2 separate regions of the Homo sapiens genome follow, and region 1 is linked to region 2. Evidence: promoter capture Hi-C in 16 types of primary human blood cells and fetal thymus (Javierre and others, 2016). All regions are on one chromosome and are shown on one strand. Each heading gives the region's core, a stretch centred on a gene start or on the middle of the fragment in contact. The rest is flanking DNA. Distances are from core to core; before and after follow the strand shown.

The links. Contacts are between HindIII fragments. The CHiCAGO score rates a contact against its expected background, and 5 or more counts as called.
Region 1: the fragment with the promoter of STARD7-AS1 here is called in contact with a fragment that was not itself captured in region 2 in 2 of 17 cell types (total CD4 T cells and non-activated CD4 T cells); the score reaches 5.6 in total CD4 T cells.

What each region holds. Positions count from the first base shown.
Region 1 is chr2:96,206,916-96,211,205 of GRCh38, forward strand. It overlaps STARD7-AS1 (STARD7 antisense RNA 1), which reads left to right and starts at 1,501. Exons shown (of 4, transcript NR_046322.1): 1 at 1,501-2,064. STARD7 (StAR related lipid transfer domain containing 7) reads right to left here and starts at 1,912. Exons shown (of 8, transcript NM_020151.4): 1 at 1,230-1,912. The coding sequence starts at 1,519. RefSeq lists silencers at 1,329-1,588, 1,939-2,158 and an enhancer at 1,606-2,196. The HindIII fragment of the contact is 17,331 bases long and covers 1-4,290 here.
Region 2 is chr2:96,591,719-96,595,980 of GRCh38, forward strand. It overlaps KANSL3 (KAT8 regulatory NSL complex subunit 3), which reads right to left. Exons shown (of 21, transcript NM_001115016.3): 21 at 1,454-3,913. The coding sequence ends at 3,893. Among named protein-coding and RNA genes, the nearest start is that of KANSL3, 44 kb to the right of the region's middle. The HindIII fragment of the contact is 1,896 bases long and covers 2,050-3,945 here.

The sequences.
Region 1 (4,290 bases), core at 251-2,750, 390 kb before region 2:
CCACACCCAAGAGACTGTGATTATAACCAATGGCCAAGTAGCAAAAGAATACTAATAGGAACTAGGCAAAATACCTATCACGCTTTGATAGCTTAACTTTTTTGTGAATAAGGTTGTTTGTGGTTATTATTTTAAGTTGCATTTATAAAAGTTATCTTTCCTGCTAGGAAAAGTATTCCCAGTTCTTAAGATAGACTTGCATTTACCCACAATTCATAGTGTGGCACAAATAGCTGCCTGGCATCTGGGTGTTACACCTCCCACACAGGCCATGGTATAAACTTTATTGGGGTATTTCCATTTTTAACCTAACAAAAAATGTGGAATAACAGGTTGTTTCCCTGTGGAGGAAATATCAAGAATAAACAGGCGAGTGTGGAATCTGCGGAGGGAGGGGATTGTCTCTGGTTCCCGAAATCACGGCAAAGTACTTTCTGTGCAGGGAGGGCACAGTTTAAGAATATCTGTTGCAAAGAAAATACAGACACAAGGTAAACCAAAAACCAAAGCAAAGTTTCCCCATGACATTACCTGGAAACTACAGTCTCAGAACTACAGATTAACAAACGTAATCAATGGTACTGGGCTTTTCACAGTTTTGATGACGACAGCATGACTTCAGAGTCTAATGGGACACTATTCCCAAAGTTCTAGTTAACGTCGCAAAAATCTGACCTAATTCTTACAGGTTCAAATGTCTGGGCTGCTGGTTTGTGTAACCTGGACAAAATCGCTTCCAGGCTCTCAATTTTGCCACGAGTCACGATGACAGAGGGCTCTCCTGGCTTTTCTCACAGGCCTGAGTCCCATCTGGATTGAAGTCATTTTGCAAATAGCAGCCCACCACCCTTAGGCCAAATTTAAAATTTGTTTTGAATTTGCACCTTTCTGGTTGTGTTAAAGATTACAGATTACATGAACAAGGGCCTCCATGCCTTCGCTATCTAATTGATTTCTACAGTGTTGTTTCTTTACTGTCTTGCTCGCCCCACTCAAAGTCTCCCTCCTACACACCAGCCTACACACTTTCAGTTCTATTTTATAACCCGACAAATGCAAATTGACACACAGAGACAAATAACAACGCGGTTTGCTGAAGCAGGTTCAATCGACTGTATTGCCAATTAAAAGACCACCGGGTAAACAAGGGCCAACGACCACAGGGCAGGCCCCAGGGTTCACAAGCCCCCCCACCCCACGGCCCAGAAAGAGCTCGCCGCAGCGCCCACCTCTGCAACTCCTCCTCCTGGATCCTCTCCTCGTCCCAAACGAAGACGCCGGCTAACGCCGCCATCAAGGCAGAGGCATGGCCAGGACGGCCGTGCAGCCGGCGCCAGAGGCGGCCGAGGAGAACGCGGCGTGAGCTCTCGGAGTAGAGGCGGCCGTAGAGCTGCGCGATCTGCTGCGCGCGCCGCACGCGCAGGCCCGTGACGAAGCGGCACTGATTGGCCAGAAGCGCCAGCAGGCCCCCGCCCCGCGTCCCCGCCAGCCAGGCGGCCAGCAGCCTCCGCGGGAGCATGCCGCCTCCCGCAGGGCCCGCCGCGAGCTTCCGGGGCCCAAGGAACCAGTCCGGAGGGGCGCAGGCGGTGGTCGCAGCGTCCCCCTAAATGGCCGGCCACGAACCCGTCTCACGGTCCCGCGGCCAGGAGCCGCCGCTCATCTGTCTCTGCAGCCACCGCTGAGGAAGAGTCTCCTCTGAGGGGAGAGTCGGTCATGGCAGCAGACGCCGGGATGGCTCCGCGACTGCTACACCAGGCACTCCTGGGCCCGGGCAGCAGACCAGTCAGCCCTGTGGCTCCTCGGCGACCTCCAGCGGGCGCCCGGGGCCGGGATGCAGGGCGCGCGGACAGAAACGAGACAGACAGCTCAGGCCCAGCAGCACGCAAGCTCCCGCGCCTTCCGCGACTGCCACACGCGCGGCGCGCGCGCACCCTACTTTTTCTCCGCCACCTGGGCCGTGATTGGGCGCGACCTGGGCTCCTGGGTGCTCATTGGCGCCGTGAAGTGCTCGTCACCGCCCCCTCCTGCCCCTTCATGCATGCGCGGAGGCCGCCTGCTAGCAAGGTAGGTGGCTCGGCGGCGAGAGCCGTCAAGGGCGCATTGGAGAGTGACCCTCGGACCCGGCTGCCGCCGTCGCCGCCATCTTCCGGCCGTCCCAGCCCCGCCCCGCGGAGAAACCTGGCCAGGTTCCTGTTAGAATCCTGCCAGGTGTTAACTTGTTTTAAGAGGCCGGCACGCTGGCCCCCTTCTTTATTAGAGTGCAGGGTGGGGGCGGGGCTCCGCATGTCTCTGCGGGGGCTGGGGGCTCCCAGTGATAACCGCCATTGCAGAATTAAAACTGAGACAGTGAAAGAGATCTGACCTAACCAATTCCATCTTGCTTCTGTCCTTGTTCATTCCTGAGCTTAGGTGAACTAATTTTGGGAGGAACTTAGTTTATAGTTTAAAATAAAGAGGATAACAGCCCTTTCCCAAAACAAATCTTCTTATCTGGGAACTAGACTGCCTTTGTAGGACTAATAAGTTAGCCATAAGATTGGAAATTATGGTTTAGGAGTCATGCAGCTGGAGGCTACGATATTGTGATCCCCCTAAACTGCTCTTAAGATCAGTGCTTGAGATATTTTGCTGACCCCGCACTGGTTGGATCCTGGCACCACCCAGATGGATAAACTGGCTCATCTGACCTTGTGGCCCCCACCCAGGAACCAACTCAGTGCAAGAGGACAGCTTCAATTCCCTATTATTTCATCTCGACCCAACCAGTCAACACTCTGGACTCACTGGCCTTCCCCCACCCACCAAATTATCCTTAAACACTCTGATCCCGGAATGCTAAGGGAGACTGATTGAGTAATGTTGAAACAAACTCCAGTCTCATAGTGGGCTCTGCGTGAATTACTCTTTATTGCAGTTCCCCTGTCTTGATAAATCGGCTCTGTCTAGGCAGTGGGCAAGGTGAACCCATTGTACGGTTACAAATTTGGGGGTTCGTCTGGGATACCCCTTGTGGCTACCTGTCCATGGTTCGGTAGCCCCACCTCTGGTGACAGATCCAGAGGCCAGCCTAAGCGGCCACATAGTTCTCTTGGACTAGGGGCTAACTCTGGCACCGTCTCTGCCAGTGGGGCACTGCTAGCCCAATATGCATGGACTTAATCGCAATGGAGAAATAGTCCTGGGGAGACATCCCATAACTGTAGCCCTGTCACAGGGTATCTGTAGCTCCATAGCGGGGCGCTGTAGCCAGGTCATGGAGTGTCTGTAGCTATAGCCCCATCATGGGGTGGCAGGTTGCTGAGTATCCTAGGTGCTGCCAGTGCCTCCTTCCTTCTCCGGACTGATTCTGTAGCCACATGGTGGGTGTCTGTAGCTCCACCATGGGGTGTCTGTCTCAGTTTGGCTCCTGGGGCATCCCAGTTGGCTGTCCCTAACTAGGAAGAGTCTTGGTTCGGGAGACTTCTCAATCAGGAATATTTCAGGGAGATTTGTCAGATGGAGAATAGGAGGATAGTTTGGAAGGGGTACTCTTGGAGTTCTTGGTTAGGGACCTTAATTTGGAAGGCCTTCTGTCTGTCTTGTCTTCGTGTGTGTGTTTGTATATATGGAGGGGATCTCTGAAGGAATTGCTGATGAAAATCCAGCAGGCCTAACTTGGAGAACACTCCTTATTTATCTAGTCACATTCAGTGAGCCCTGAAAGAAGTTTAACAGGCCTGATTCAGGGTGACTGCTCAGAGACCACCCATTGAATTCACGATTCAATGACCCACCGTGCCTGGCCTTAAAAGGATTTTTTCTTAGAAAAAAGAGCTCTAGGCCGGGCATGGTGGCTCACACTTTTAATCCCAGCACTTTGGGAGGCCAAGGCGGGCGGATCACGAGGTCAGAAGATCCAGACCATCCTGGCTAACACGGTGAAACCTCGTCTCTACTAAAAATACAAAAAATTAGCCGGGCGTGGTAGTGGGCACCTGTAATCCTAGCTACTCGGGAGGCTGAGGCAGGAGAATGGCGTGAACCCGGGAGGTGGAGCTTGCAGCAGTGAGCCGAGATCGCGCCACTACACTCCACCCTGGGCGACAGAGCGAGACTCCGTCTCAAAAAAAAAAAAAACAAAGTTGACTTATAGAGCCAATAAGCCAAAAAATTGACTTATAGAGCCCCTTGGGAAATCTGGCCTCATACTATGTCAACACAGTCCCTGTACGAGGTTCCTGACCTGTGGTAAGTAAAGAATGTCACTTTCTAACAGGCTCAGGAGACCTAAGTTATCTTGACACCTCAAGA
Region 2 (4,262 bases), core at 1,748-4,247:
GCCAATCAGGCTGTCTTCAGAATTTGAACTGAATGAAAGAGACCAGCCATCCATAAAGGGTTCTGCAGCTAAAAAGTCCTGTGACAATAGGATCAAAACTGGATCCCGGCAAGTCCAAGCCACTTGAGGTCACGAGGCAAGTACCAAAACCGTGAGGCTCCTTGTCTATAAAAATGCCTAATGAGAGAATATTCCCTTTCAGAGCTATTTTGGTGGTGAATAGGTTTCTCCTTCTTGCAGCCATCAACCCTGACCAAAATGTGTGCTTGAAAAAGACATAAAAAGGTAAAAAAGACTTGTCTGCATCATTATTTGCTATGGCCCTGTCCCCATACCCCTGAAGTTTCAGAGAGCTGTCATTTTAACAATCTAATCCTCATCTCGCTTGACCTGACTGCTCAAGTCAGTGAGACTAGAGTTTGAGGGAGAAGACAGCAAACCAGATGTCTACTAAGGAGGGTAACACGATGTGCCCAGGTATACTGGACACTCCAAGCAGCATACCAGAACTATGGCCTCCACCCAGAGGGCTCCAATGCCAAGGGTAGTGACCTGGAATTTAGGGGTTAGAAGGAAGGTCCTCCTGAATACAAGTTAACAAATAATCTAGAGGTTGGAATTCATTCATTCATCTCTAAATCTTTATGTATTTATTGGCGGTGGGTGGAGGTATAGGAAGTGCGAAAGGATACTGATCTTTCAGGATCAAGGTTGAGGGACCCCACCTACTGACGTAGGCTCAGCCAAGAGCCCCACCATATCAACATCAATTACTCTTGGCCTGGTGGGAAGTAAACTGAAAAGGTCACGTGCAGGCCAAGCCACCATCTCCTCACCTCCTGGGTTAATCTCTACCTCCAGTCTCCCATCTTAGAACCCTAGCACAATGCAGAGTAGAAAAGACACTGACATCAGACTGTCTGGGTTCCAGTACTGCTTCTGCCATTTCCTGCTGTTTTGACTGCTCTGTGCCTGTTTCCTCACTTATAGAAAGGAAATTACAGGCTGGGTGTGGTGGCTCACGCCTGTAATCCCAGCACTTTGGGAGGCTGAGGCGGGCGGATCACAAGGTCAGGAGTTTGAGACCAGCTTGGCCAACATAGTGGAACCCTGTCTCTACTAAAAACACAAAAAATTAGCTGGGCGTGGTGTCGGGCGCCTGTAATCTCAGCTACTTGGGAGGCTGAGGCAGGAGAATTGCTTGAACACAGGAGGCGGAAGTTGCAGTTAGCCAAGATCGCGCCATTGCACTCCAGCCCAAATAACAATGCGAGACTCCATCTCGAAAAAAAAAAAAGGAAATTACAGTACCCCCTCATACCACCTGGCATTGGTGAGGTGATGATCACTGGCCTTACAATATCTTAGCTCTACCTTTGGTGCCCACTTCATTGGGTGGTTTCCAGAATACATATGAGAAGTCAACTGAAAAGAAGCTGAAGCAATCCAAATGTTGTTTTTGGTGTTTTTAATTGTTTTTGTTAATGTAAAAACAGAACCATCACAGCCGCTCAGCTCTATAACCCATCCAGCCCAAGACTGTTCTAGTGGTGAAACCAAGAGTAGACAGGTCTTCCTACCTCAGTGACCTCAAAACACAAGGACATCTCCATAGGGCATCAACATGCATCTGTCATCCAAGAATCTAAGAACTTCCTGATCCTTCCACATTTTCTATCAATAATATTGCCTTCTGAGGTTATGGATTCCAGGTCTTCTATGAAATAGGTAAAGCTTCCTTTCGCGTTCCAAGAAATATAGTTTGCGAAGGGAACTGGAAAACGTGACTCTAGGCCTCAGCCACTTCCTCTGTTACCCTGTGCAAGTTGTAGAACAATCCACGTTCTCACAGCTCCCCTTCTTCAGTTGTGGAGTTCTTCAAGGTGGACAGATCACACCTCAGGAAGTCATCCCTTGTAAGCACACTAGAATTTATCATAAAGGCAGGTCGGCTTGTTAGTTTTTCTTTGTCCCCAGCATACACTGAGCCAACAACTTAAGTCATGAATGGGTTGTTTAGGGCTCTGTCTGTCCTAAATGATTCCTAAAAGCTTCATATAGCTCATATAGTCTTATTGTCCACTGCTCTTTTGGTGTGGTATGATCCTACCTGTAAAGCTATCAAACCCCTGGGTCCTGGATGCCTCCTCCAGATTTCATACCTTCCTCAAGTTTACTAAATACTTTCTGAATTTAAGAATTTTGAGAAAGTCACCTACCAGCTAATGCAAAAACACAGCCTAATTCTGTGTGAATCCCTGTTGAGATCAGCTTTTCAGGTCAGGGAGGGAAGGTATGGGGTTTAGGGTACCCTCTCCTATCACACACATCCCCCCTGCCCACAGTACCCTGACCTACCTTGCCTGAGACTCCTAGACACTATGAGCTCCCTTCTGGCTGCCACTCAGACTGGCCAGGAAGGCTCCCAGATTGAACACAGGTGACCTGGTATAGATACACACTGTACTGTGGGCCAGAACCATGGACTACATTTTAAGCCATGTTGTGGGCCCTTCCTGCCTACAGAAAAGGACACTTGAGTGGAGTCACACTTGGGTTGCCTAATTTATTACCTTAACTAGAAACATTCTAAGTATGGGAGCCTGTTCTGGAGGATAGCTTCTAAACCAAATCTAAAACTATCTTTGCACACAAGTGTTGTGAAGAGGTAAGCAGGGGATCAGAGCTCCATCTTCTGTGACCACTTCTCCAGGGACTGCCACCTATAGGGCTCAGGTTGGTACCAACAGCCCTGCATAGTAGAGTCACTGTCAATCATCTTCCCACTTGTAAGCAGGAAGACAAAAAGTCTCATGAAATAGAAACGAAAACACTGAAGCATGGCCTTCATCGTCCTAATGCCACAAGTTTCCTGGGATGGCCAAGATACTACCTTAGCTTATTGTCCCTGCTTCACCTCCAGAGACTGGAGACAGAGGATTTTCCGGGGTTGGGGTTTCTTCTCTGACTTGGCAAATTCTTCTTTTTATCTCCAGCTGAACCACCAGTTCCTTGGGTAGCAGAGCAGAGACCTAAGCACAAACCACAGGGCTTACTAGCACATCCTTCAAGCCACTTCCTTTGCTGTTCTATTACTCTTCTTCAGCTTATCTGAACCTGCGGACTCTCTGGATACAGAAACTGCCCAAAGCATGGTGAAAAAGACAAAGGGCCCAGGTTTCACCTGGCAACCACTGCTCCCAACATCTAGAGTAAGTCAAAGAGGCTGAAAGATGACAGCCTAGTTCTCTTTGCCTTCATTATGATACTAACAAAAACCAGAAGTTTCCAGGAGTCAGCAAGCTACTCAGTATCTGACGTGGTTTCTAAGGTGGAGTTGCATGGGGAGCACTCTCCCGTGGCTGCTGAGTGAAGGCAACAGTGATGTCCAAAACAAGCCCGTCCGGCTCTGAACCACCAGTTGGCAGGCCAGGATGACTCCAGTCTTTAGCAAAGAGCTTTCCATTCTAACTCCCGAAATCCCAGACCAGATGGATGTCTCCTCCCAACTAGGCGCAGAGGGTAGCACAGACTTCCAAAAGGAAACACCTTCATTAAATGCAGCAGGCAGTCCTATATGCTGACCCTTGGGTCAAACCACAGCTTAAGCGGGGGAAGAAGTGGTTCTGATCCATGTACAGCCAGATCTGCTGAGGAGTCTGGGGTTCCCAGGAACCAGATTTGCAGATCCTGGACGATGGTGCTTCCCTTGCTGGCACCGTATCACCTAACCTAATGGTTTCTCTGAAGACAGTTGGCGGAGAGGCAAAAATGACTGTCTTAAACAGGTCTTCCGACACGTGGACAGCTCAGCAGGACCACACACCTGTCCAGGGCCCACCATGAGGCAGCCATCACCAACTTGGTAAGGAGGACATATCACACAGCATCTTCAGGGTGCTGGAGGCAGGCGCTGTGGCAGGAGAGGTAGTGAAGAAGGGTCAAAGCTTTGACAGGTTATCATCATATTCAGACCCTCTATCCCAATTATCCCAACTCCTGAGAATTTATTTTAAAGAATTAATTCTCAATAGGAAAGAAGTTGGATACACAAGGACACATGTTCTAGCTGCCAAGTGGTTAACAGAACATGGACTCTAGAGTGAGAGACTCAACTTTCCACTTTTTAAGGCAAGTGCCTATGTTCTCTGAGCCTCCTTTTCCTCGCCTGTAAGAGGTAGATGACAGCATCTACTTTCCAGGGTCACCGTAAGGATTAAATGAAATAATCCACATAAAGCTCCTGAGTTTAATCTGTGCTC